Regions from separate parts of the Homo sapiens genome. Here all the other regions are linked to region 6. Evidence: promoter capture Hi-C in 16 types of primary human blood cells and fetal thymus (Javierre and others, 2016). All regions are on one chromosome and are shown on one strand. Each heading gives the region's core, a stretch centred on a gene start or on the middle of the fragment in contact. The rest is flanking DNA. Distances are from core to core; before and after follow the strand shown. Region 1 has its middle 120 kb from the start of CCDC185. Region 2 overlaps CAPN8 (calpain 8). Region 3 overlaps CAPN8 (calpain 8). Region 4 has its middle 88 kb from the start of CCDC185. Region 5 overlaps CAPN8 (calpain 8). Region 6 holds the start of TLR5 (toll like receptor 5).

What was found. The method cuts DNA at HindIII sites, captures the fragments that hold promoters and counts their contacts. A CHiCAGO score of 5 or more calls a contact.
Region 1: a contact is called between a fragment that was not itself captured here and the fragment with the promoter of TLR5 in region 6, in 1 of 17 cell types (non-activated CD4 T cells). The highest score is 5.0, in non-activated CD4 T cells.
Region 2: a fragment that was not itself captured here is called in contact with the fragment with the promoter of TLR5 in region 6 in 2 of 17 cell types (M1 macrophages and M0 macrophages); the score reaches 8.2 in M1 macrophages.
Region 3: a contact is called between a fragment that was not itself captured here and the fragment with the promoter of TLR5 in region 6, in 4 of 17 cell types (M1 macrophages, M2 macrophages, M0 macrophages and 1 more). The highest score is 11.0, in M1 macrophages.
Region 4: a contact is called between a fragment that was not itself captured here and the fragment with the promoter of TLR5 in region 6, in 1 of 17 cell types (M1 macrophages). The highest score is 5.0, in M1 macrophages.
Region 5: a contact is called between a fragment that was not itself captured here and the fragment with the promoter of TLR5 in region 6, in 6 of 17 cell types (naive CD4 T cells, M1 macrophages, activated CD4 T cells and 3 more). The highest score is 8.2, in naive CD4 T cells.

Annotation. Positions count from the first base shown.
Region 1 is chr1:223,510,657-223,514,909 of GRCh38, forward strand. No RefSeq gene overlaps it. Among named protein-coding and RNA genes, the nearest start is that of CCDC185, 120 kb to the left of the region's middle. The HindIII fragment of the contact is 6,761 bases long and covers 1-4,253 here.
Region 2 is chr1:223,543,494-223,548,041 of GRCh38, forward strand. CAPN8 (calpain 8) reads right to left here. Exons shown (of 21, transcript NM_001143962.2): 17 at 1,738-1,806; 18 at 1,279-1,357; 19 at 574-690. Among named protein-coding and RNA genes, the nearest start is that of CAPN8, 120 kb to the right of the region's middle. The HindIII fragment of the contact is 5,683 bases long and covers 1-4,548 here.
Region 3 is chr1:223,609,542-223,613,940 of GRCh38, forward strand. It overlaps CAPN8 (calpain 8), which reads right to left. Exons shown (of 21, transcript NM_001143962.2): 11 at 2,705-2,716. Among named protein-coding and RNA genes, the nearest start is that of CAPN8, 54 kb to the right of the region's middle. The HindIII fragment of the contact is 1,188 bases long and covers 2,308-3,495 here.
Region 4 is chr1:223,478,856-223,483,093 of GRCh38, forward strand. No RefSeq gene overlaps it. Among named protein-coding and RNA genes, the nearest start is that of CCDC185, 88 kb to the left of the region's middle. The HindIII fragment of the contact is 2,588 bases long and covers 1,216-3,803 here.
Region 5 is chr1:223,630,224-223,634,638 of GRCh38, forward strand. The region is part of intron 2 of CAPN8 (calpain 8); the gene reads right to left. Among named protein-coding and RNA genes, the nearest start is that of CAPN8, 33 kb to the right of the region's middle. The HindIII fragment of the contact is 747 bases long and covers 990-1,736 here.
Region 6 is chr1:223,141,002-223,145,613 of GRCh38, forward strand. It overlaps TLR5 (toll like receptor 5), which reads right to left and starts at 2,247. Exons shown (of 6, transcript NM_003268.6): 1 at 2,195-2,247; 2 at 647-762. It overlaps LOC124904522 (a long non-coding RNA gene), which reads left to right and starts at 2,354. Exons shown (of 2, transcript XR_007066895.1): 1 at 2,354-2,597. RefSeq lists a silencer at 2,036-2,405. The HindIII fragment of the contact is 3,848 bases long and covers 49-3,896 here.

The DNA.
Region 1 (4,253 bases), core at 1,514-4,013, 370 kb after region 6:
CAGTTCGAGATGAGATTTGGGTGGGGACACAGCCAAACCATGTCACTGGTTGTTTAAAAGTGTGTGTGTGGCATGTTGCCCCCACTTCTTGCACCCTCTCTCACCATGTGATGTGCCTTCTCCCACTTCCTCTTCTGCTATGAGTAAAAGCTCCCTGAGGCCTCACCAGAAGCTGAGCAGATGCTGGCACCATGCTCCCTGTACAGCCTGCAGAACCATGAGCCAATTAAATTTCTTTTCTTTATAAATTACTCAGCCTCAGGTATTCCTTTATAGCGACACAAAATGGACTAATGTAGAGGTTTAGAATGCTGTTTGTAAAGCCCTAATTAGCACAGTGCCTGGCCCCTAGTGAACACTGGATAAATGGTGGCTGTAATCTTCATTAGTATTGCAGAATGAATGAGGTGACAGTGAGCAGCAGACCTCTGGGGCTGGATTTACTGATTACATGAGTAAATCTTCAGGAAAACTGCACTCCCATGGGCAGGTCCAACTACATAAAATTTGGAGACTGGTACAAAATGAAAATGTGGGACCCTGTTGTCTAAAAACTATTCAGAATCCCAAGTCAGCAACACCAGAGCATTAAACCAAGCCCAGAGCTTCCTCTGTTCACAGGTCATGAACTCATGAGGTCAGCCTGCCCGTGGGACCTTCCCAGCAATAGTTTCAGTGGGATAGGCTGAGGCCCTCTCATTTTGCAGGCCAGAGTCCCAGCCCAGAGCATTCAGGTGTCTCACATCACTTTTCTTCTGGCTCACTCAGCAGGGTGAGGCTAGGAACTCTTGGTGCCAAGTCTAGTGTCCCAGTGTCCCCAGTGACTATCAGTCCCCAGTGGCAGCCCCAGCACTCCCTCCTGCTTGGCTGAGAACCCAGATCACAGAAAGGGGATGATTTATCTTTAAGTTTGGATTTAAAATTTTAAATGGTACTGAAGTCAATCGAATGACTGGCCCCAAATCTGTACTCCCCTCTTACAGTATTAGCCATCCATGCTTGGCATGGCTTTAGGGTGAGCAGGGTGCACCTTACCACATCTTGCCTCTTGGCTTGCCTGTGTTACTTACTTAGGCCAATGGGAGTGGTTGGGCTTGCCATCTTGTATGCCTGTCTTTCACCATGGAAAGAACATGCCCTGGGTGTCCACCACCACAAAGAGGATGAGAGATGCATGGACTTGTACCCAACCCACAGTCTACACTCAAGCCCAGCTAAACTGGAGCAGCCGAACCCAGCCAACCTGCAGACAGAGGAGTCAGAAATAAATGCTTTATTGTTTTAGGTTGCTAAGTTTTCAGTAGTTTGTTAAGCAAAATTACTATGGCAATAGCTGGCTGATAAGTGTCTTATAACCCAAAGGATCTATGACTCACTGGGTGCAGTGGCTCACACCTGTAATCTCAGCACTTTGGGAGGCTGAGGCAGGAGGATCGCGTGAACTCAGAAGTTCGCGACCAGCCTGGGCAACATGGTGAGATCCCATCTCTACAAAAAATAAAAAAGCCAAGTGTGATGATGCGCACTGGTATCCCAGGTACTCAGGTGGCTGAGGCAGGAGGATTGCTTGAGCCCAGGAGGTCAAGGCCGTGGTGAGCCATGATTGCACCACTGCTCTCTAGCCTGGGGGAAAGAGAAAGGCCCTGTCTCAAAAACCAACAACAACAAACTATGACTCAATTGACTCCCTCTGAAGCTAAGGAGACTTTTTGTCTCATATGCATTTTCATGGCTTTTCTGGAGACACCCTAAAGCTGGAGGTCTCATGCCATCAGATCCCTTGATGTAAATGAAAGCATATCCATTGGATTTATTCTTCACTCTTTCCCCAGCCTCTTAGGCATCAGCAATTACTCCAGCTCCCTGCAGCTGAGATCTGTTTGCCCCTCCAGGGGACCCCCTTGGACAGGACCTAAGATGAAACCACACTGACCTTCTCTCACACAGAGCCCAAGGTTCCACATCATTTGACCTGGCGGACCCCTGGAGTACAGGCCGATCCCGGTGCAGCAAAAACTTGTGCTTCAAGGAGACTCAGACCCTGGTCAAATGTGTCCCCCAAACTGCAGGGAAACCATATTGAACTTTCCGGATGATCTGTTTCAAATTTTTCCATCTTGACTTGAGGAGAAGAAGGATGTACTTCCCATGCCTTATCATATAGGAAAATAGAACCCACTTGTTTTGTTTAATTTTTAGACACAGAGTCTATCTCTGTCACCCAGGCTGAAGTGCAGTGGCACAATCATGGCTCACTACAGCCTCGAATTCCTGGGCTCATCTCTGCCTCCCTAGTAGCTGGGACTACAGGCACACACCCAGCTTGTCACTTTAATTTATAAAGATGAAACAGTAGAACTTTCTCAGGTTGGCAATACTCCATGGATATTGTCATGCATCGATGCCAGAAGACTAATGCATCCTGACCTTGGGAAGAGGAGAACAGAAGCTCTGCATTTGGAATATTTCTGGATTCTTCTGTTGATCAATTTTAATCTGTATCCTTTTCCTGTAATAAATCATAACTGGGTGTCTAACAGCTTTCCATGAGTTCTGTGGGGACTTCTAGAAAATAATTTCAGGAGTTTTTGGAACCTCCTGAATTTGCGATTGGTGTCAGAGTGAGGGCAGTCAGGCAGGCTGTCCCCTCTAACTTTGCAATTGGGAGTCAAAAAACTTCAGAAACTGCTGCTGATGTTTACAGCTGCTCAGCAGCCCTGAGGCAAAAGAGTGGCTGGGAAAAAAATACACTGGAAGAACTCATGCTGGCCAGAGTTAATACACCTGCCACTATGCTGGAAGAGGAAGAATGGCTCAGCCTCCACTCCGGCTTCCTAATCTAGCTTCAAGGCACTTGTTGGCAGAATTAAACCATACTCAACACTCTGCAAACAAGGGAATCCGGGAACAGGCTTCTGAACAGGAGAGAGGCGGAGGAGGTGAACCAATCCCCCACGGGGCTCACCAGGACTCTCTCTGAAAATCCACTTCCTAATTTTCAACTCCAAAGCCTTTGAGGTCCTCACTAAGGATGAGGGGTTTGAGATGTATGTGATGGGATTGTGGAGAGCTCCATGGTAAATTCTGCAAAAAATCTCCCTCTTCCTTTGAATGATGTATTATCCAGGAGTTTCAGCCACAAGCACCATTTTATCATCTCATTACACCAATCACAGCTAAGGCTACAATAAACACTTGGAATAATAAGGTGCAGACACAATTACATGCTTTACCCTTCTCTGGTCTTTGAGAATAATAAACATGGTCACAGAGCCTGGTATTCAGATGAGGCTTTCCTGAGGACCCTTATTTCCAAAATCTGAAATTACCAGAAGGGTAAATTAAAGAATGAATACTCATTTGGTAAAAAGGATACCTTGTTTACAAAATAATTTTACTTTAATGGTAGGGATTTCCAGCTATTTACCACTTGTCAAACCAGAAGAAAGAAACTCCAAAGTGTTAGGAGCTATTGTTAAAGATCAATTAAGACTGTAGAAACCACATCTCAGAAACATTTATGAAATTAATTGAGAATTATAATTTGTATCACACACTGTTTCTATGAATGCATCTCTTTTCTAAAATAAGACCCAGCTGTAAATTATGGGGACAACATGGGTTGGTAAATGCTCTTCAGATGCCTGATGGGTGCATTTCCTGTCTCCCCTGGGTGTTAATCTCCTGCGTGGGAAGACTCTGTTTTCTGTGTGTATCACCTAGGATGCTTTTGGCTGCGAGTACAGAATATTTCAACTGAAATGGCTTAAACAATAAGGACATTTATTATCTCACAGGTCGAGCTGTCTGGAAACAGGAAGTTCTAGGCTTGGTTAATTCTGTGTGATGAAGTTGTCAGGCACCTGCTGCCTCCCCTCTTTGCACTCTGCCATCCTCAGTGTCATCTGGTCCCCTCAAGGTAGCTGGATGGCCGCTGACCACTGGTTCTCACACAAGCCCATCAGAAGGAAGGGAGGACAGCCTCTCTTTTACATTTCTTTTGTTGCCAGAGAGAAAATCCTCCCTAGTAGTTCTCTAGAAGGCTTCCCTTGCTGGTTCCTTAGTCAACGTTGGGTTTGACATGCACTCCACAGCTTTGAGAAAGCCTGGAAAGTGAAATGGCATTTGCAGCTGCTTCTATCTTGAGAGTGACGTTCTCAGCCACAAAGGAAGAAGGAGATTTAGAAACACTGTTGGTTCAGAAACCAAACATATCTGCCACAACACCCAGACCCTGCCCTCTTCTAAAGCCA
Region 2 (4,548 bases), core at 1,536-4,035, 400 kb after region 6:
CTTGCTTGTGGGTAATCCAGTCCCTTAGCTTTGTCTCTGGCTAACTGACCTTGACCCACTAGAACGTAACACCTACCAAACCTCAGTGGAAGGAAAAATCCCTTCCTAATAAGATATCTAATCTCAAGGCCCAAGATGGCAGAAAAACGCCTATTGCCTTCAGAGGGCACCCCCCATCCCTTCATTGGAAGGTGGCACATGTTCTCAATATGATCCCTATTGAAAAACAAATATAAATAGACACTAAACACCATCTAAGAACAGTTACTGTGACTCATTCATCTTGGCCTAGTGACTGCACACTGTAGATGCGCAATAGTCTGGATGGCAGCTTTGTTAAGTCTCCAAAAAAGGCATCCTCCGTCCTGGATCTGGCCAGCCTGGACTTCCTCAGCCCCTTCAGGTCCAGCTGCCCCTCGCCCCCAAGGTGCCAGCATTCCAGAAGCCCTGTCTATCATTTTCTGGGTCCCTGGCCTCCTAAAGGCAATGTCTGGTTCTGCCCCTTGGCCCTGCCCCTGCCCCACCTTGCACCTTGGGATTAATAGGATGGGGCTGGAGGACAGAGTGACTCACTGAAGAGGGTCTCCAGGCGGATCATACAAGCCACGAAGCTGTCAAAGTTGATGCCAAGCTTGCTGCACGCATACCGCAGGGCAATGGTCTGCTGCACCTGGCTGTTGAGGGTGAAACCTGAGGGCAGAGGGAGCCTGGGTCACAGGTAGAGTGGAGGACTCAGCACTGTCTCCCATAAACACTCAAGGAGCTGACATCCCAGGGGCCCCTCTGTGGTTCTGTATCAATCTGCAAACCAGGCCTGACTCTGCCTTCTCCAGGGGATCCCAGAAGGTGTCCTGCCATCCATCCCTCTCCTTGTAGCTACTCCTCACCAAGATCAGCCTAATTCCAGGTCCAGCGCTAGTACCAGCACCAACTCAGCCATGGGTCACATCAGCAAGCAAAAGCAGAGAAGGTGAGGGGGCTGCCTGTCTGGCCAGTTCCTGTCTGTCTCCTTCATAGCCCCTTCCTCTGTAATTGCTGTCACCTTCCCAGTAACAGGCAGAGATCTTGGAAAAATTCTAAAATATTATGCTATATGGAATCGAGCAATATTCTCCCCTTCCTGGACAGGGAAGGTACTCAACAAAGCTCTGTTGTTGCCTTGATATCCCATATAAGAAAGCTACAAATGATGATCATTAGCAATCATCATCATGAGAATAAATATTTACAATGTGCACACCTGGATCCCAAGACCCTGTCTACAGGATGTGTCCTCACCTGCCTTCCTGAGGGCTGTCCTCATCTCGTGGGCATCGATGGTGCCCGAGTGGTTATAATCAGTTTCCCAATAGATCTCCTAAAGCAGGAAAGAAATCCCAAGTAGAAAACAACCATTCACGGCCCCTGCCAGAACCATCTCCCTCCACCACACTGCTTTCTCAAAAGGCCAGGGACACTTTCAAAAGGAGACCCTATTGACTCCTCCCAAGAAGGTTTCAGAGCAAGCATAAGAGCTTGGCCAGTGCTGGCCCCTTTGCTGTCTGAACAGCAGGGCTTTCAGGGCAGTGGTTGGCATGAGAGTCTCTCATTGCCTTCTTGTTCCTTCATGACCAATGTGCCCAGGACTCAATAGTTTTGACCATGATTAAGGATGTGGTCAGAATACAATGGACCAGGAATGAGTGTAAGGGAGGATTAGAACAGAGGAGAGGATGCCCAGAAGGAAAAGAGAGTTACCAGATACTTCTGAATCTTCAGCCAGAGCGTCTTGAATTCCACCGCCCCCAAAGTGCCCGTTCCATTGCTCTAGGCACATTAAAGACCAACATGATTGAGTCCAAATTCTACATGCCTTATAGATTTCTTTCTCTTGTGAGCTTGCATGAGTGCCTTAAGGCCTTAGTGAACCTTCCATGTCTGTGGCAAGCAGAGCAGTGGGGGTGACGGTGTGTAACAGGTTCAAATAAAGATTAAAAAGTCAAACGTGCACCAAGGCTCTCCTCTGAGGCCAGGCACAGAGCTAGGAACAAAGGGCAAGTCATGAGCTGGCCAATCTGCAATATCGTGAATACCCTAATCATCCTGGTTTATTTACAGGGTGGAGCTGTATGATCTGTAAATTCGCTTCTACATTTACATTTCTGTGATTGATCATTCAGCTAATTAGAGTTTGTTGGAATGTCAAAATGTTATGGGAAAAGACATCAGGAGCCAGGAACCATGGGACTGGGAGTCTAAGCCACAGAATCTGCTCATAGGCCACTATACAACCAAACAGGAGGATATTATGAGGGATTTTCTGTGTCCAACTTACATTCACTCCACAACTTTTTTTTTTTTTTTTTTTTTTGAGACGGAGTCTCTCTGTCGCCCAGGCTGGAGTACAGTGGTGTGATCTCAGCTCACTACAACCACTGCCTCCAGGGTTCAAGCAATTCTCCATGTCAGTCTCCCAAGTAGCAGGGATTACAGGCACCCGCCACCATACTCCACTAATTTTTTTTTTTTTTTTTTTTTTTTAGTAGAGATGGTTTCACCATGTTGGCCAGTCTGGTCTTGAACTCCTGACCTCAAATGATCTGCCTGCCTCAGCCTCCCAAAGTGCCACGACTATTTTTTTTTAACGCTGTGCTAGTCAATAGGGATTTAGTTTTGAATGCACTTATGCTCCTAAAGTTAAGTTTTTTAGAGACTCTACAATTTTCTCACCAGTCACAACTAATCAATAAACAGTGCGTATGTTACAGCACCAATGTTAAAATTTTGAAACAGCCCCAGCTACTCAGGAGGCTGAGGCAGGGGGATTGCTTGAGCCCAGGAGTTTGAGGCTGCAGTGAGCTCAGATTATGCCTGTGAATAGCCACTGCACTCCAGCCTGGGCAACATAATAAGACCCCATCTCTGAATAAATAATTAGAATTCTAAAACAGACTATCACTTTAATTAGCCAAACAAAAAGTCCTGTAAGCCTCATACTTTAAGAAAGTCTGTGTTCTTGGATCTATAATCCGCACTGAGTGTTGAATGCATCATAGCCTTCAAATCCTTACTAATAATTCAACCAACACATCTCAGAACAGTAGTATGCAAAGGAAGCTAACACTCGGGGCTAGGTACTCTACATACTTGTATCTCATTTCATCCTAACAATAGCCACACAAGCTAGACATAATTATCCCATTTTCCAGGAGAAACTGAAGTTCAGAGCATTTAGTAACTTCCTCAAATTTATACACCTCAATAAGTGGTAGAGCCAGAATTTGGACCCCTGTCTGTTTCAAAACCTTTGTCCCAGAACACCAGTGGTCTTCAATTCCAGATAAAATTGCTTGCAGAGACCACACCTATGGAATCAGGATCTCCAGGAATCAGGGGTTTTTGTTTGTTTTGTGGTTGTTGTTGTTGTTGTTGTTGTTGTTGTTGTTGTTGTTGTTGTTTGAGACAGAGTCTCACTCTCTCACCCAGGCTGGAGTGTAGCAGTGTGATCTTCACTCACCGCAACCTCTATCTCCCAGGCTCAAGCGATTCTCGTGCTTCAGCCTCCCCAGTAGCTGGGATTACAGACATGTGCCATCACGCCTGGCTAATTTTTGTATTTTTAGTAGAGACAGGATTTCACTGTGTTCCAGACTGGTCTCGAACTCCTGGCCTTAAGTGATCTGCCCACCAGTGCCACCCAAAGTGCTGGGATGACAGGCATCAGCCCCTGCGCCCCGTCAATTTTTAAAATTTTTTTTCTAGCACTTTGTAGGACATGTGAAAGACTGTATTTTTAAACTGTATTTTTAACACCCCATGGGTGATAAAGTACTGATACATGCTATAGTAATTGAAACATCATGTTCAGTAAAAAAAGTCAATTACAAAGGACCACATATTGTATAATTTCATTATATGAAATGTCCACAATAGACAAATTTGTAGAGACAGAAAGTAAATTAGTGGTTGCCTAGGGATGGTCGTGGAGGTTGGGGGAAATGGAGAGCGACTGGTAATAGGAGTACAGGGTTTCTTTTTAGGGTGATGACAATGTTCTAAATTATGTGATGATGGTTGCTTAACTCTGAATACACAAAAGCCATTGCCTGATATACTTTAAATGAGTACGCTGTATGGTGTGTAAATGATATCTCAATAGAGTTGTTATTTTTTTAAGGATTCCATGGGTATTTCTGCTGATTCAGAACCACTGCCCCACACTACCTAAACTGTGGAACAGAAACTCCTGAAGAGTGGCAGAGAGTCACACTCCTCTTTGAACCGTGAGAGACACAAATACCATTGGGAATAAAGAGTGGGTAGATTACAAGGCAACTCTCAAATCTAAACTGAAGTCAACAGATGGGGTTTGATGAGAATGATTCAGAAACCAGGGAACTATTTGCAGTAAAGTGAATCAATACTTAACAGTTCCTTGCAGTCCACAAATTAAATTGTCAAGCATGGAGAAAAGACACGAGGGCTAAAGAGCCCCAGCCTCATGCAGGGAGTGGCCGACTGAAGCTCAGAGGCCAAAAGATAGCACCAGCCCTCCATGGTGGATCAGCC
Region 3 (4,399 bases), core at 1,652-4,151, 470 kb after region 6:
GTGCCTTCTGGGTGCCAGGCCCTGTTTGAGGCATTGATCTTGACTGTGTGACCTTGACCTCTGGGCCTCCCCAGTTAAACGAAGGTTGAGGGACAGGGTCTCTAGTGTGCGCTCAGCTTCTCTCTGGATATTTTTCCTCTCTAATCCAATAGGCTCTTTCATTCTGCAGCTGTCTCTGGGAGTGTGGCATTGATCTTCCCAGTACAGGCCCAAGGCTGGAGAAAAGAGCTTAAATCCTAGTCCTCAAGCAAAAGCTGCCACAAAAACTTGTTCACCTTTGACTATCTGTGAAAACTGCTCTGCAAAGAGACTAGGATGGTCAGTCTGGGAACCCAGGGAGGCAGCTCTAAAAGAGACAGGCAGAGGGGGCGGCCACAGCTAGGCCTAGTCTGGGGTCCCCCCAGCCTCCCCAGGGCCTCGACTCTCCTCAACAGGCGACGATGCTCTCCAAGACCCACTTATTTGTTGCGGGGAGGTGGGAGGCTGTTGGTGCATGACACAGGTTAATTAGTGACTGCAGAGTGCTTCCAAAACACAGGTGCCAAAGTTATTATTGCTGTAATTAAGCCTCCCCATAACACTGTGTCTTTACCATCAATCTTCATCAAGATGCCTGTGACAGAGGCCAGGTGCTGATACACTGCAAGGGCTGTTAACTTCTGTGTGACCCAGAGCTGAAATGTCCACCCCAGAGTGGACAGTGTTCATTCTTGGTCATCAGACCCTCTTTGGATTACAGATCTGCTAAGCAAAGAAGGAAGCAGGCCACCTGCCCCCACTACCCTAGTCAGGACTCCACATAGAGCCCTCAGGCAGTCCCCACTAACCCGGCCACTAGGGTGCCCACAGTCCTTGAGATTCTCCCTAAAAATGCTTACATTCTGGGCAGGAGAATGCTGGTGGTGTGGCCAGAGAGGATGTGACCAAGGCCTACATGTCATGAGTTAAAGGTCATTCTTGCCATACCTGATGGTAGCAAAGGGAGGAGACAGGGCACTGGTAGGAGAAAGCACTCAGGAGAGTTGAAGTAAGGAAGCTACTCTAATTTGTCTTGGGTTGGGAAGGGGGCAAACTGAGTTCCAGCAAGAATCCAGGGGTGGAGCAGGTTAGAGAAGTCCTATTTGGGGGCCAGAGTGGGAACTGGAGGACACTGAGGCAAGATCTAGGTAAGACTCTGTCCTACTAGGGACCCCAAGTAAGCAGGTGCCACAAGGTCCCTGGCCCCCACATCTGCCCTTGACATAGCTCAGCTCAAAGTTACAGGATGGAGGTTGGGCAGGTTTAACTAAGGGTGGTTCTCAGTGTGGGATCAGGATCAGCAGGAGCACCCCAGGGTAACTTGTTAGAATGCAAATTCTCAGGCCCCACCCTAGACTGAAAGAATCAAAAACTCCAGGAGCAGGGCCCAAAAATCTGTGCTTCAACACGCCCTCTAGGGGATTCAGAAGCACATTCTAAGTTTGACAACTGTTGTCCTGAAGGCCCCCCGGCACTCGTAGAGCACAGGATCCAGGGTGACACATTGAGGGCACTGTGAGGTGCTGCTGGAGAAAGCTCCATTGTGTGTGCACGTCACCTCTCTCTCATATAAATGGGGCATTTCTGATGGGAACCACCATCACCCAGACTTAAATCAGCTTTGGTTTTAATTATTTTCCAGTAGTAATGAGGTAGGAGGTAGGACTCAACTCCCAGCAGGACGCTGGACCAAATGGAGCACTAGCTGAAACAGGGAAGAGGTGAAAGCACCTCTCCATGAGACATACCCACCAGTGTGCCCTATCAGTTTACTGTTGCCTTGGCAACATCCAGAAGTTACTGCCCCTTTCCATGGCAACAACCTGACAACCCAGATGTTAACATTCTTTTTCTAGAAATTTCTGCATAATCTGCCCCTTAATTTGCATATAATTAAAAGTTGGTATAAATATGAGTGTGGACCTGCCTGTCAGCTGCTACTGTGGGCTCACTGACTATGAGGTAGCCCTGCTCTGCAAGGACCTCTGTTGCTGCTCTACCCTGCCACTTCAATAAAAGTTGCTAACACCACTGTCTGGTCCTTGAATTTTTTCCTGGGTGAAGCCAAGAACCCTCCCAGGCTAAGCCCCAATTTGAGGGCTCACCTGCCCTGCATCAGTAAGAGGTATTTGCTCTAAACCATTCACTTCCTTGTCTGTTCCCTCTGTAATCAATAACATGCACTTTGTGAGCCAAGGGCAGGTGGACCAGTAATCTGCAGCCTTGGATCAAGGCATACACTAGAGCTGATGAATTGAGCCTTGCTGGCACATGCTTCATGGCTAGCCAAGCTTGAAAACCCAGAAGAACTGGGGTAAAGCTGAGCAGGGTGGATGCACCTATACATAATTAGTGCAACTGACTCCAGCTAGAGGAAGCCCAGATAGAACACTGGTTCTCAACCTTGGCTGCCCATTGGAATCACCTTGTTCAGACCACCAGGGGCATGGGGAAAAAGGTCACCACTGTTCCTTCCATGAGGGCCTGACAGATGGGACTTGCAATGGTCCTCACCCACTCTCAGAGCTACCAGCCTACTCATGTGGTTTGATTCATGACTGGATCATGTGAGAGCTGTGGAACAACCAGCTTCTACCACAGGAAACAGACGCTGCTGGCTGCCCATCCTGAAGGCAGCCAAGCTATTTCTCACCAAAGGAAGGAATCTCTGTCAGCACTCACATACCTCCTTGGGAACCTGTGGGGCAGAAGAAAAGAGCAGGTCACCTGAGAGCTCCAAGGTCCTCCTTCTGCTCCTTTTCCTCTCTCCCTATGTCTTGCAAACAGACTGTGCAGTCCTGGGGCAACTGAGGAGACATTTGTGCTAAAGTGAGAAGCCAGTCAGCATTTCTGAAACTGGAACACTACTGATGAATTTCAAGGCCATCTATAAATAGGATCCTAGAAATCTGGTGGGGGACCACCAGATTTCTAGGTTCTACTTTCTTATTTTCTAGTTGTAGAATCTACCAAGATCTCAAATTATTCAGGAGTAATAGCCTTGGGGTTTCAATGAGAGCTAATCTCTTCTTCAGACCTACAGACCTGGTGTCCAAGATCAAGAGTTTGACCAGAGTGGGGGAATCTCACTCAACCTGAGCCATAGTTTATTCTGCCCTTGGCTATGGTGAAATGGTTCAAGAACAGGCACATGACCCAAGCTGAGCCCATCAGAGACTTACTTCTCTGGGATTTCTGAATTGGAACTAACAGAAGGGACTCCTTTCTTAATGCTAGTGATATTAGGGAATGAAGAAATCTAGACTAGCACAATGTCATCAGCACTAGAGAGGAGATGTGGAAAGAAAGAATCCTGGTAGTATCCAAGTCCCTTGTCCCAAGCCTTCATCTCCTTCCCTTAATTTGGTTTCATGAGCTGGTACACTATTTTCACTAGCCTAGCTCGAGTTGGGCTTTATTATATGCAACTGGAAGTGTTGACTCCCATAAGAGAGTAGCTCTCAGATCCAGAGTAGAAGCTTTCCCATGCCTGGGGTTCCTATGCCAGGCTAGAGAAGAGGATTCAGACCCCATAATTTGTCCCTTTCCATTCTTTGTCCCTGACACATAGGCCCTTTTGACCAGAAGACCATCCATTATTTGTGGTTTAGGTCTATGGTCAACTGCCTATAACTCTGAAAAACAACAATATTACAGAAAATGTGTATCAGCTGGCATGCTCACTTCTGGAGCCCCCATGGGTCATTGGCAGCAGAAGTAGAAGAGTCCAGGGTCACAGTCATTCCTCTAATTTTGAGTGTAAAACCAAAATCACCCATGCAGAGGCCTCACAAGTATCTTCCTGTCAGCTCCTGGCCTAATAGCCTTTACACACCCTTGGCAGGGGCTTGCCCAACCACATGGGCCGTCTTTCCACAAACAACTTGACCACCTCTGCTGCCATCAGTATGCTCCAGATCCACCCTACCAAGAATCACCCAGCAGAAACTGAGCCAGGCAGGTGGGGCCTCTTGGTGGCACAAATCCAGAGCAGCGAGGTAAGGGAGCAGGCCTTAGCCACTGCCCATGGGTGGATGGAAAGAAACAGTCATCTTTCAAATGCAGGATCCTGACTGCAAATGACAGGCTGGCCTGGCATCACTGCAGGAAGATAGAGGGGAGAGAGAGGAGGCCAGACAAGGAGGGCTCTTTAGTCTTTGGAGGCACCTGGCTGCTTCTCAGTCAGCAGCAGGTTTTCATCCTCAATCCAAACTCCAGTTAAAGCAAGAGAAGGGAGATACAGGAATGAGAATATGGCACCCACTCCCTGCAACCCCAGCTACTCCCTATAACCCCAGCTACTTCTGATACCCTCTTAACCTGACTTTTAAACTGTTTTCACTTATGGATGTCATGCTCTAAATTATATGCCTGTGGCCAG
Region 4 (4,238 bases), core at 1,260-3,759, 340 kb after region 6:
CATGCTCAGCCCCAATACTCTCCATACTCTCTGGTGGAGGTGAGGAGGTAGCGGGGGTGAGGAGGTGAGAGGGTGAGGAGGTGGGGGGGTGAGGAGGTGAGAGGGTGAGGAGGTGAGAGGGTGAGGAGGTGGGGGGGTGAGGAGGTTGGGGGTGAGGAGGTTGGGGGTGAGGAGGTTGGGAGGTGAGGAGGTTGGGGGGTGAGGAGGTGAGAGGGTGAGGAGGTGGGGGGGTGAGGAGGTTGGGGGTGAGGAGGTTGGGAGGTGAGGAGGTTGGGGGGTGAGGGGGCGAGAAGGTGAGAAGGTGAGGAGGTAGGAGGGTGAGGAGGTGGGGGGGAGGGGGTTAGGAGGTTGGGGGGGTGAGAGAGTGAGGAGGTAAGAGGGTGAGGAGGTGAGGGAATGAGGGAGCGAGGAGGTGTGGGGGTAAGGAAGTGAGGAGGTGAGAGGGTGGGGAGGTGAGAGGGTGAGGGAGTGAGGAGGTGAGGGAGTGAGGGAGAGCACAAGCTGAGAAAACCAACTGCCTAGGTCCTGCCCAGGGCGACCTCTCTGGCAGAGTCGCCAGGCAAGGAGGACAAAATAAGGCAATGCAACACTTAAATGAATAGTCAAACTTGCCCCAAATCACAATGCAGACCTTCCGGAGCCAGGCGGGATGCAGAGAGGACTCCTTTCTCCTCAACAAGGGAGGGCTGGGGAAACTCAAGTCAAGCAGATCAAAGAGTAATTTGCCTGCTTTCCCAAACCCAGACATCAGCTGCTGCCGTTCCTATGTGAGGAAGGGTTTACCCCACAGCCGTGGGAAGAAGGGAGCAGCAACACTTGTCCCATGTTTTGGGGGTGAGAGGGTAATGACAGGGAGACAGAGGGCCTGGGGCTGAACCCTCCACACTCCCAGCCTCAGAGAGGGGCCGGAGGGCGGTGCCCACACCCTGCACCCTCACCCGCTCACTCTTTACCCTTGTCGTGCCCCCTACTTCCCTCCAGCTTTAACATAAGAATCAGACCAAGCAGGCAGCCCTTCTCCTCTTCGAGAGTGAAGTGACATGGGAGAGGAGGCAGGAGCCAAGAGATGCCTTGCTCACCTGGCTGTGGGCCAGGGAAGGTCTCCTTAGCGTGAGGCAGCCCTGCTGGAACTCTGTTCTGGTGAGTGGCTCTCAGCTCACCTGCTTGTCGCAGCTCTTTCCTCTTGTCCGTTTCTGAGCCTGCATGGTCCCTAAAAGCTTAGTCTTTTCACCACGTCTCTCTGGATAGCAGCAGCAGCCTCCAGACAGCCTGCAGACTGCGTGTGTGTGGTGTGTTGTGGGGTGTGGGGTGTGTGTGGTGTGTGTAGTGTGTCGGGTGTATGTGTGTGTCTGGTATGTGCGTTGCATGCATGTGGTGTATAGGAATGTGTGGTCTGGGCTCTGTGTGGTGCATGTGTGTGAGGGTAATTTTGTGGTGTGGGGTATGTGTGCACTATGTGTATAAAATTGTGTGTTGGTGGAGGGTGTGGGTTGGGGCTGTGGGATGATCATCACTGGAAGGTGAACCGCAGCTCCATGATAACCTTTTGTGCATACACGTCATTTGTAATTAGCCAGGTCTGGAGAGTTCGAAACTGGGAGAAGAGAAAGAAGAGAAGAGAGAAAAGGAAAATTAATGAAACAAGTAACCTGCCTTATATGGATATTTGATTTGCTTGTTTGCACATTGTTTAGTCCTTACAAGCTCTGAAAATAAAACACAAGCACAGTATCAGGCTCAATTAGGTGCTTAAGAAATACCTTTTGATGATGACAAATGGCAGGGATGTTAATGACACTGCTTCCCTCCAGCTCCTGCTGCACAGAGCGCCCTTGGCTCTTCAGACTTACAGCTCTTTGCCTGAGCTGCTGTGAGCAAGCCTCTGCTGCCCACAGGAGATGGCCCTGTGGGCAGGGCCTCCCTGTGTCTTTTCACCTTTTGAGACAACCCCATCCACCTCTTTGGGCAGCAGCTCATAGCAGGTGCTCCCTGAACATGTCTGCCTTTGACTTGAAGGGGTCGGGACGCCGCTTGAGGATGCTAAAGGGAGGCAGCTCATTGTAATGCCTTCACCTCCACCACTTCCAGGAACTCCTCCTCTCCTTGTGGATCTCAGGGCTCATACGGTTTGCCCAGAGCCCAACAGCTACAAGTGCACTCAAACAGAACATTCCTCCGTGCGTTTGCTCTTGCAAAATGTGTGTTGGGGGCGGGGGCGGTGGCTCATGCCTGTAATCCCAGCACTTTGGGAGGCTGAGGAGGGTGGATCACCTGATATTAGGAGTTTGAGACCAGCCCGGCCAACATGGTGAAACCCCGTCTCTACTAAAAATACAAAAATCAGTCCAGCGTGGTAGCAGGTGCCTATAATCCCAGCTACCTGGAGGCTGAGGCATGAGAATCGCTTGAAACCGGGAGGCAGAGGTTGCAGTGAGCTGAGATCGTGCCACTGCACTCCAGCCTGGGCCACAGGGTGAGACTCCGTCTCAAAAAAAAAAAAAAAATGTGTGTTGGATCCCATGGTTCCCCTGCTGCCCAACACACCGAGAACCAAACGCACACTTGCACGCTCGCCGTGGGGCCTCAGTCACCTCCTGACTCCCAAACACACAGCTCTCACTGCTGCCTCCCGTGCTCCCCCAGGCCAGCGCTGGCTCTCTCAGTGCTAGTATCTTTTTATAAGGATACCAGTCGTGCTGCATTAGAGCCCACCCTACTCCAGCATGACCTCATCCTAACTTAACTAATTACATCTGCAGTGACCCAATTTCCAAATAAGTTCACATTCTGAATTACTGGGGGAATAGAATTTCAACATATGAATTTTGAGGGGACACAGTTCAACCCATTACTGCAGCTATCCACAGAAGAAAGTCCAAATTCCTTATGTGGCATTCAAGGCCCTCTGTAATCCAATGAGATCCACGTTTCCAGCTGTTTCTCTTCTTCTTCTCCCCTAGGTGCACACATGTGATACTGTTTTGTATCAAGGCAGGATTCTGAGATTAAGTGAAGAAAGGGGAACAGTTAGGAGAGTAGCATCTGCTGAATGTTTACTAAATGCCACCGTCAATGACAAGTGTGTTTTATCTACGTCACTCTACTTTTTTTTTTTTTTTTTTGAAACAGAATCTCACTCTATTGCCCATGCCGGAGAGCAGTGGTGCGATCACAGCTCACTGCAGCCTCAAACTCCTGGGCTCAATCAATCCTCCCAATGCAGCCACTGTGGAAAATGGTATAACTTTCTCAAAAATTAAAAATAGAATTATCAAATGATCCAGCACTTCCACTTCTGAGTATATACCCAAAAGAATTCTAAGCAGAGATTCAAACAGATATCTGCACACTCATATTTATAGCAGCATTATTCACAATAGCCAAGAGGTGCAAACAACCAAAGTGTCCATCAAGAGCTGAATGGATAAACAAAATGTGGTCTATCCATACAATGGAATATTACTCAGGCTTGAAAAGGAAGAAGATTCTGATACATGCTACAACATGAATGAACCTTGAGGACATTATGCTAAATGAAATAAGCCAGTTTCAAAAGGATAAAAACTATATGATTCTACTTACATGAGGTACATAGAACAGTGAAATTCACAGAGACAGAAAGTTGAATGGTGGTTTCCAGGGGCAAAAAAAAAAACAAGGGAAGATTCACACTCCCTTGCAGGTTTCTCTCCACAGACCTCACCAGGTGTCAAAAAAAGAGTTCTCCAGGGGATTCCAATGTCTGCCAAGCTGTAAAGCCATCGGCCTTTTGGGTAGTTATCTTCATTTCTTCTTTGGGGAGAAGCTTGATTTTCTGTAAGCTGCAGAAGATAGCTCAAACCAGCAGCTCAGCCAGTTAAGGGGACGGAGGCTGCTGGTCTGCATCCTTCCAATGGTCTTTCGTCTCCCTTTTTCTCCTAACTTAAAGCTTTCATGATGGAGAAGTCTTCCCTGTTGTCTGCAATTTTCCTTCTCTCAAAACAACCTTCTGAATCCTCTTTTGGGGTGGGGTTTCAGATGTTGTGAAACCATCACATGCTTATGAACTAGCAGACATACAGCACCGGAAGTTGAGAGGGTGGACTGCTATTAGACTGCCTGGGCTGAGTCCTGAGGGCACCTCTTGCTTGCTTGAATGACTTCGGGCAAGTTACTTCACCTCTCCAAGATGTCATCGGGGCTCATCAAAGTACCCGCCCCATGAGGTCTCCTTGTGAGAACAACATGAGAAAAGCCTG
Region 5 (4,415 bases), core at 113-2,612, 490 kb after region 6:
CCAAATTAATTAATTCCTCTCTCTCTCTCTCCCTCTCTTTTTGTCTGTCTGTCTCTCTCTCTCTCCCGCTCACTCGCTCTCTCTCTCTGTCTCACACACACACATACTCATTTACTTTCTTTTTCTTTTAAGAGACAGGGTCTTGCTCTGTTGCCCAGGCTGGAGTACAGTAGCGCCATCATGGCTCACTGCAGCCCCAACCTCCTAGTCTCAAGCAATTCTCCCACCTCAGCCTCCTGAGTCACTAGAACTACAGGTGCATGCCATCATGCCTGGTTAATTTTTTTTTTTTCATAGAGACAGGATCCTACTATGTTGCCCAGGCTGGTTTTGAATTCCTGGACTCAAGTGATCCTCCCATCTTAGCCTCCCAAAGTGCTGGGATTACAGGTGTAAGCCACCATGCCTGGCCATATTACTTTTTGAAGAGCTTTTCTGATCCAGGAGGCAACCTGCTTCCTGCCTCACTCTCTCACCAGGCTCTGTTTCACAGACAAACACTATCTTCCTAATGGCAACAGGGCTCCTAGGTGAGACTAGACCTGGTAGTCGAGGGAAACAGAGTTGATGTGGATGGGCTGGCATGAGTTATGTTACTTCTCACCAAAGAAGCCTCAAGCAGGGCAGTCTCTCATTAAAAGGCAACTTCCAAAGGTTGAGCAAAATAACACAGTGTCCTCCTCCCACCCAGCTCCTCTCAGCCCATTTTTCTTCTATGAACACCTGTGATCATGTCACACCCCTGCTCGCAACTGTCCTCCATTGCTCACCAATGAAATACAACCTAACAGGGCATCAACACCCTTCACAATATGACTCCAACCTACTTCTCCAGTCTTTTTCCTATTACACTCTCCGCTATGAATCTAATCTCCCAATCGAACTTGGATATGTACAAAACATACCCTGGTCGTTTTCATTGATGTGATTTTTCTTGTTTGTTCCCTCTGCTTGCAAACTTCTTGATGAATCTTACCCCTTCTCCATGAAGCTTTCTCTGATACCGCCTACCCTCCAGCCAGAAGTCACCGCTTTTTTGGTATGTGTCCTAAAGACCTTATTTACGCTTCTCTTGCAGAGTTATCACAAGCTGCCTCAGATCATGATTTGCACCCAGACTGGCCTCAAAACTCCATTCATGCATCAACTCCTTGGCAGAGCTTTCCTTACCCCTATCCCTGGCCTGTCTTACCAGCACCAAGCCCTTCCTCCTCACACCTCCCCAGCAAGTTCTAAGGCCACTTGATTACATCTGTTTTTCTCTCTCCCTCATCCCTCTCTGACCTCTTCTTGCAAAGCAGCAATGTGGATTCACTCATCTCGGCATCCCCAGCAGGTGGCTGACACACAGAAGCAGCTCAACGGATGTTTGATGAATAAAAACAAATAAGCAGATGACTACATGAATCAATGAATCATATTTTGTTCTTCTGCAAATCTCCAACAGCATCTTACATATATTTGCACCTCAGCCTCCCAAGTCTGTGGGGAAGTGGCATTCAACAAGAATCTGCATCAAACCTGACAGATTTCACTTTCACCAGCATCAGGCAGAGGGAGATAAACAAGGTAGGGCAAGCACAGAAGCCCAGTCCTCTGGGGAGTGAAGGGGGAGACTGCTCTGCAACACCTCTAAAGCTAGTGGCTTCTCAAAGAGATCAGAGCAGCCACATAGCCCTCATTACTGGGCATGGTCCTGGTTGCCTTCCGATGTGAAGGTTCTGGCTCCCGGTCTAAGCTTCTTCCGACAGCCCACCCAGAGCACTCCCTAGATATTACAATTCAAGTCACGGCAACAAAATGTCCCTCCGTTGCTGACATCAAATGAGGTGGCCCAGCTGGAGGAGAGTTTAATTTTCTCTTCATCTACCTCACTCCTGACATTTCACAGGGTCTACCCAGCTCTTGCAAGCAAGCACAGAGGCTCGAAGGGATGCTGTGGGTTTGGAGGCTTTTGGATCCTTGCCAGTCACTGCATGAAGTGTGAATGGATTGTCATGACGAGAATGCGTTTTCAAAGGAATATATCCAAATGTGCTTCCCTTCAGAGTCCTCTGGAAGATGGACATTTACTCTGCTGTTCACATTTAGAAACTTGTTTGGGGAACTGCCAGCAAAAAAACAGCTTTGATCTTGGAGCATAGGTTTTGTTTTGTTTTGTTTTGTTTTGAGACAAGGTCTCGCTCTGTTGCCCAGATGAGTGCAGTAGTGCAACCATGGCTCACTGCAGCCTTGACCTCCTGGGCTCAAGCAGTCCTCCCACCTCAGCCTCCCAAATTGCTGGGACTACAGTCATGTGCCACCATGCCGAGCTATTTTTTTTAAATACAGAGCTGGGGTCTCACTATGTTGCCCATGCTGATCCTGAACTCCTGGCCTCAAGCAATCCTCCCACCTTGGCCTCTCTAAGTGCTGGGATTATAAGCATGAGCTACCACACCTGACTAATTTTCAATTTTTTAATTTTCAAAAGCAGTCAGGAGGCTTTGACATACTAGTTAGGTGGTGAATAAGGCAGACAAAAACACTGGGAAATACCTTGATAGACAAGTCCCTCCTGGCCACCTTCGAGCTAGGGCTGCTCAGGAGTTAGTGCTCACTCATGCGCTTTAAGCAGAGGTGCACTTCATGGGAATTTAGGGAAGGTTTCCATGTCCTGATGAAGTGGGGCAGACTTGGCTGGCAGAGACTTTTTTGCCCATTGCCCTTCCTCCTTCTTCCCATCTGGAAAGTCCACACTGTGCTTGGAGGTGCAGAGCCAGCTTGCAATCCCAAGGCTGCAGGTGCAAGATGAAGGTCAGCATAGGAGAGTGCAGAGCAGAGCACAGTGTGAGTCTAGCTCTCCAAGGGCATTATTAAAGTTACACTAGCCCTGGGCTGTCTGCCTCTAGTTTTCTTATTATAAAAGAAGAACTTGCCCCCTATTTATGCTTCTTGTAGCCCAAGGTTTTTCTAACTGATATTAGAAGCATGACTACAGAGTGATTTGGTATGCCCCATAAATTGGCTCTGAAAAAAGAATTCCACAAAAGGAATTCCAAAATAAAGTTGGGAATAGCCTTTCAAATACACACATTGCACTGGGTTGAATCTATTCTAGGGAGACTGGAAGACCTGGATGGTAATGCCTGTGTCTGGTCCCAAAACGGAGACTATAACAAATGCTCTCTTAAAAAAAAAAAAAAGAAATGTATTTGAGAGGCCAAGGCAGGTGGATCACTTGAGGTCAGGAGTTCAAGACCAGCCTGGTCAACATGGTGAAACCCTGTCTCTACCAAAAATGCAAAAATTAGCCAGGCGTGGTGGCAGGCACCTGTAGTACCAGCTACTCAGGAGGCTGAGGCAAGAGAATCACTTGAGCCCAGGAGGCAGAGGTTGCAGTGAGCCAAGATCACACCACTGCACTCCAGCCTGGACGGCAGAGCAAGGCGCCGCCTCAAAAAGAAAAAAAATAAAATAAAATCCACCAGGAGATAATAATCCTGAATCAGACATTGTTAAAAAAGAATCCCTTAATTCAAAAATTCCCTTTACACATTAAAATCAAAGCTTAAAGGTCGGGATGTCTAATGTTATTATAAACTGTAGGTAGCAAGAACTCGAGCTATAGCTTAATGGAATTTCTCAAACACCAAGGGAAGAAATGGAGATACTTCTGGACTGCAGGTAGAAAGAAAGAGGAAGGAAAGAAGAAAGGTCAGACATCAGAAACCCTACAGTAGCCCCTACATTACCTTGAGGTTGAACAATGGCTGAAGTGGAAACAAGAGTAAAGCCTCAGGTAGTTTGAAGCAGAAGCCAAAGCAGGGAACATGTATGCCCTGCTGCCCATTCAGGAATCCAGAAGCAGAGTAAAGATGGCATCATGGAGCACTTACACAGAAGATGAGAGACAACGGAAGTGCCCCCAAGTCTCCCTCGGGTATTATGTAAGATTGAGCTGAGGGCAGGGAGGAAAAAGTCAGCTCAATCCTATTGCAGAGGTTGTGGGGTGGACCTCTGGGTCAGGCACTGAACGGAGGCTGTGATGTGTCATGTCTGCAGCAGTAAGGAGCACTCAGGTGGGGCTGAGTCAGCCAGGAAAGGTCCACTGGACCCTGAGGAAATCAGAAGAGACCCCACAACATGCCAGTCACATCTCCAGGAGGCCAGCAAGGACCCATAAGTCAGCACTAGGGTACGTAAGGACTAGCGGGCTTCTCTCATTGGTGGGAGGACATTGTTTGGCCTTCCTTATACCCACGTGCCATCCTAGGATGGTGGGGGAGGAACCAGACTTTACAAAGTGAGAAACCACCTGTTTTAGTCCATTCGTGCTGCTATAACAAAATACCATACACTTGATGCCTTAGAAACAACAACACAAGTCTAGAGGCTGGGAAGTCCAAGATCAAAGCACCAGCAGAGTTGATATG
Region 6 (4,612 bases), core at 997-3,496:
TTAAGGGACCAAGGCTGGGAATCACTTAAGCTTCAGAAATCTGATTGAAGCTTTGGATCTGCCTTCTGCATTCTTTTCCACAATGTTAAGAGTGAAACAAACACATCTGGATGCAGTAACTGGACATTCCAGTGCTGTCTGCTGTTTAAGTCTGTTAGTATACAGAGACAAATAAACAGGAGAGTTTTGCTTTCAACACTCAGCAGAGCCAAACTTCCTGATGCACGGGAATGAACAACGGAGGCACTGTTCTGGAAACACCGTCCTCCAGAGAGGCGCTCCCTCCTCAGAAACAACACCGAAAACCTGGCATGGCTGGTTTTGCATTCAGACAATGGCACCTACATGCTTTTTGCTTTGCTCAGAGCTGTAAATATCCAAAGAGGTGATCCTCTGCCATCATTTTGGAAGGAAGAATCAGTCAGACTGATAATTAGGGTCATACGCACAGGCATGGTCATGCTGATTGTTGAAATTTAGATTATTTTTGGCCCAGCACAGTGGCTCACACCTGTAATGCCAGCACTGTGGGAGGCCAAGACAGGCGGATCACCTGAGGTCAGGAGTTTGAGATCAGCCCGACCAACATGGTGAAACCCCATTTCTACTAAAAATACAAAAATTAGACAGGCGTAGTGGTGGGTACCTGTAATCCCAGCTACTTGGGAGGCTGAGGCAAGAGAATCGCTTGAACCCTGGAGGCAGTGGTTGCAGTCAGCCGAGATTGTGTCACTGCAGTCCAGCCTGGGCGGCAGAGTGAGACTGTCTCAAAAAAAAAATTACATATATATATATATATATATATATATATATATATATATAGAGAGAGAGAGAGAGAGAGAGAGAGAGAGAGAGAAAGAGAGAGAGAGAGATTATTTTTGTACTGCTTAGTAATTAGCTTTAGCACGGTCTCTCCTCTGGGACCTCCCCTGGAATTTCCCCACAATCCAGTAACTGAATAATTAGCATCCAGCCCCACAGAACTTCTCCCAGGGCCCTGCTCCAGGGCTTCCCTTCTGACTGGCTGTGCATGGCACACTGGGAATTGTTTTCTGCCCACAAGAACAAGGGTGAACTGAGTCAAGGAGTCCAAGAGATCTTGGACGCACTTCTCAGAATTCGGAGGGGCTGGGTAAATGCAGGAGAAAATTGATGAAACCACATTGGCCCTGCAAGAGCCTGACTGCTCCTGCACGGTAGCTACCCCTAGCATTAGCGGGGAGTCACCAATGCCTCTTCCAGGCACTGAGCAAGAGGGCGGCATTACAGATGCACTTGCCGTCCAAACAGATCATCTCATTGACTAGGTGACTGCTCAGCAACAGTATCTGAAGGACACTAGGGTTACTCTGCTTGTTTGCAGTTCACGGTGCTGGACGGATGTGTTCCCAACACTAGGTAACAACACCGCTCTCCCTCCTCCGGGAGAAAGCCGCAGCCGTCGATTCCCACCCAACAGGGCCTCAGCGCCTTCCCAGGGCAGCACCCTCACTCCTGCAACCACCAATCACCCAAGCCACAGCATGGTCCCAGACCCACCCTCGCCCCTTAGGAAATGGCTTTCCAATTGTGTTTTCACAGGAGCATGGCCACTGGGCAATGATCTTCACAGGCAGGCTTTTTTTTCCCCCTCTCAACATAAAGGCCAGCAATATTTACCACGGAGTCTTGGCCAGTGTGCACTGCCTGGTGCTGTGGGGTGGGGTGTTTAGGGCCTTTTGTTGAGCAGCTCAGTGACTTTCTGGGATTTCCATGGCCCTGCTGGAGATGGCCCTCTGTCTCCCTTTTCCAAGGAAGAAAGTGACTGGGGACAAGCCACCTGCCTCTTCCACAGGGTGGGGGCGAGAGTGACAGCGAGACAGCACAAGAAGGACCCGCTCTGTTTCAAAGCGAGGATGTGAGTGACTTCGTCTGTGCCGAGGTCTCTTCGTCTCCAACCTGCCGGGCACAGGGCACCCACATGACACGCTCACCCCGTCCCTGGGCCGAGGGACCCCACGTCTCGCGGGTGCCGCGGGGCAGAGAGCGCCGCCTAGTGAGGCGGCGCGAGTTGGACATAGACTGGAAAATAGACCCGGACAGCCCGGGAGGAGGGCGGAGAGGAGTCCGACCTCCGCAGGCAGCCGCGTCCCCGCCCCGCGCTGCCTACGACTTAGGGCCCCCGGCCCATCCCCTGCCGCTGCAGGGCGCTCACCTCTGGGACGCCTCCCCGCGCCGCCTGCGCCACGGTTGGCTCCTCCCGGACGCAAAAGCGGCGCCCTCGCTCGGGCTCCTGAAAACCTCGCGGCCCCGCCCACGGAAGGGCCCGCCCACCTGCCAGGCCACGCCCCCGTCTCGGCCACGCCGCAGCTCAGGGTTTTCTCTGAGGGCTGTGAGAGGCTAGGCCCGGGGAGAGGAGGCAGAGGTTATGCTCCGGTCTCTGCAGACTTCCACAGTGTCTATCGAGATCACACATGCCAGCATTGCCCCCTCCCATCCTCTCCTCATCGTACGGAGGAGGAAACCCAGGCCGAAGACCTGAAGTGTCCAAAAGCACAGCCAGGCCAAAGAGAAGCACCATCCCATGTTCTCCCACTCCCACTCCGGTGCTTCTTCAGGTAGGCTAAACTTCAGGCTAAAATGTGAAGATCACAGTGACACATTCCTGTCAGCAGAATCTGCTGCATATGTTTGGGAGCTGGGGTGTTTGGAAGCTCCGATTTTGTGTGGAGGACCCAAGAGAGAAGACAGACCCTTCCTGTCCTATAAGAACAGTGCTCCTCCTGCCCTAACTTCTCTTTTCCTTTTTCTAACTCCCTCTGCCTATGGGGTTTGCTGAAACTTTCAGGAAAAGGGACGTGTCAAAAGAAAGAAATGGACACCCCAGAGGCCGTGCAACCACAGGGTTAAAAGGAGGTAGCCTTATGAGAAAGCGGTGGAGTGGCTTTCTGGGGTGAAACCCAGTTCAAGGACAGAAATAGCACTGTCTTGAGTTAAGACTGGTGGTGGGGGAAGCCTGGGGGTGGGGCGCAGACTGCAGGCGGAGGAGCTCCCTGCCACCTGCCACTTGGGGTGTAATCACAGAGCAGCTGACACTCCCCACTCACTGCCTGGAGGAGCTTGGCGGTGGGATCGGGCAAGGCGGGAAAGATAGGTGTAAAACAAAGCCTGGCACTTAATTACAGTGCAAAGATCTCATTATAGAGTCTTCTCAGCTCCCCTCCTCGGCTGGCAGCTTGAAGCCTGAGTGACAAATTGCCTAGGTAGGTCTCCAAGGGCTGTATGTAGAGGGATGAAACCACCTCCCTGCCCACCCGAACCCCACTGTGGGGGCTGTGGAGAGGGAGGGGATGTTCACACTCTGGCATATGCAGGGGGCAGTGGGGAAGTCTGTAAGGGCACCTAGAAAGCAGTAAGAGCTGGGAGCCACAGTGGCCCTAGCCTGACATAAATAACACCTTGCTGGGGCAAGCCCAGTGTTCCCTCTTTTGGTAGTGGAACCGAGGGCAAGGTTGGGGACAGCTTGACGTGTGGCACTGTTTACTCTGCATCATAGGTGGATGCTGCAAGACCAGCAGGGGCCTGGCTTATCATGCAACTTTGTGAATATGTGGGAGAGAGGAGCCTTCCAGACGGTGTTATGGCCTCCCAGGAACTCCCAAAGCCCCCTCCCCAGGGTGGCATCTGGTTTTGGACACTGGTTTCTGTCACTGAGCTCCAGGGACTCATGTCACACCTGGAAGAACTTTTAGATTCTGTCTGCCTGGCCATGTCTTCCAACAGCCGAGATCATTGAGGAAGATGACAACTTCTACCTGAACAGCCAGGACAGCTTAGGGTCTTCTCACATGTGGACCTTGAAATGCACTTCTGTTATTTTTCTCCAGTATATTCAGGGGAAGGGGGCTGGTGATCAAAGCTTTTGCTGAGCAGGAACAGAAGGGTTGTCACTTGCTTTTTTCTCCACTGAAACCTAGAGTAGCAAACACATCCTCGGGGTGCTATGTGATGCTCACAGGCAGAGCCCTGCCAGAGGTTCCCGTCATTCCCATATATTAAACCTTCAATGTCTTCCCTATGAACTACAAACAAAGTTTATATTCTAGGTCAAAACCCCATCGTCTAGCCCCTGACAACTTCTCTAGGCTTGTCTGCTTCCAGCCCCAACCTCCCAGTCCCCAGCCTCAGCAGCTGCCTTCCACTTGCTTAAGGTCTTCACGCATGCTATTTCTTCTACCTGGAATACTCTTTCTCCATGACTTTGCGTAGCTCACTCCTACCCACATTTTAGTGTTCCCTGTAATGTAACTTCTTCAAAGAGAACTTCCCTAACTCTTCTAATTAAATTAGGTCCCTCCCATTATTCTTCCTCTTTATAACCTATTCTTTTCCTTCACAACTCTCATTTCAATTTATGATTTTACATGGACATGTTTATTGGTTCAAGGTCAGCCTGTCCTTCATACTTAATAGATTTAATAGACTGTAAGCCTCACGAGGGTAGGGGCCATGTCTGATTTGTTCACTTCAAATCCAGTATCTGACAAGTGTCTCCCTATAAATATTTATTGATGAATGAATGAGTGAATGAATGATATCAGCAATCTTTATCTTAAAAGATAAAATTAGAACT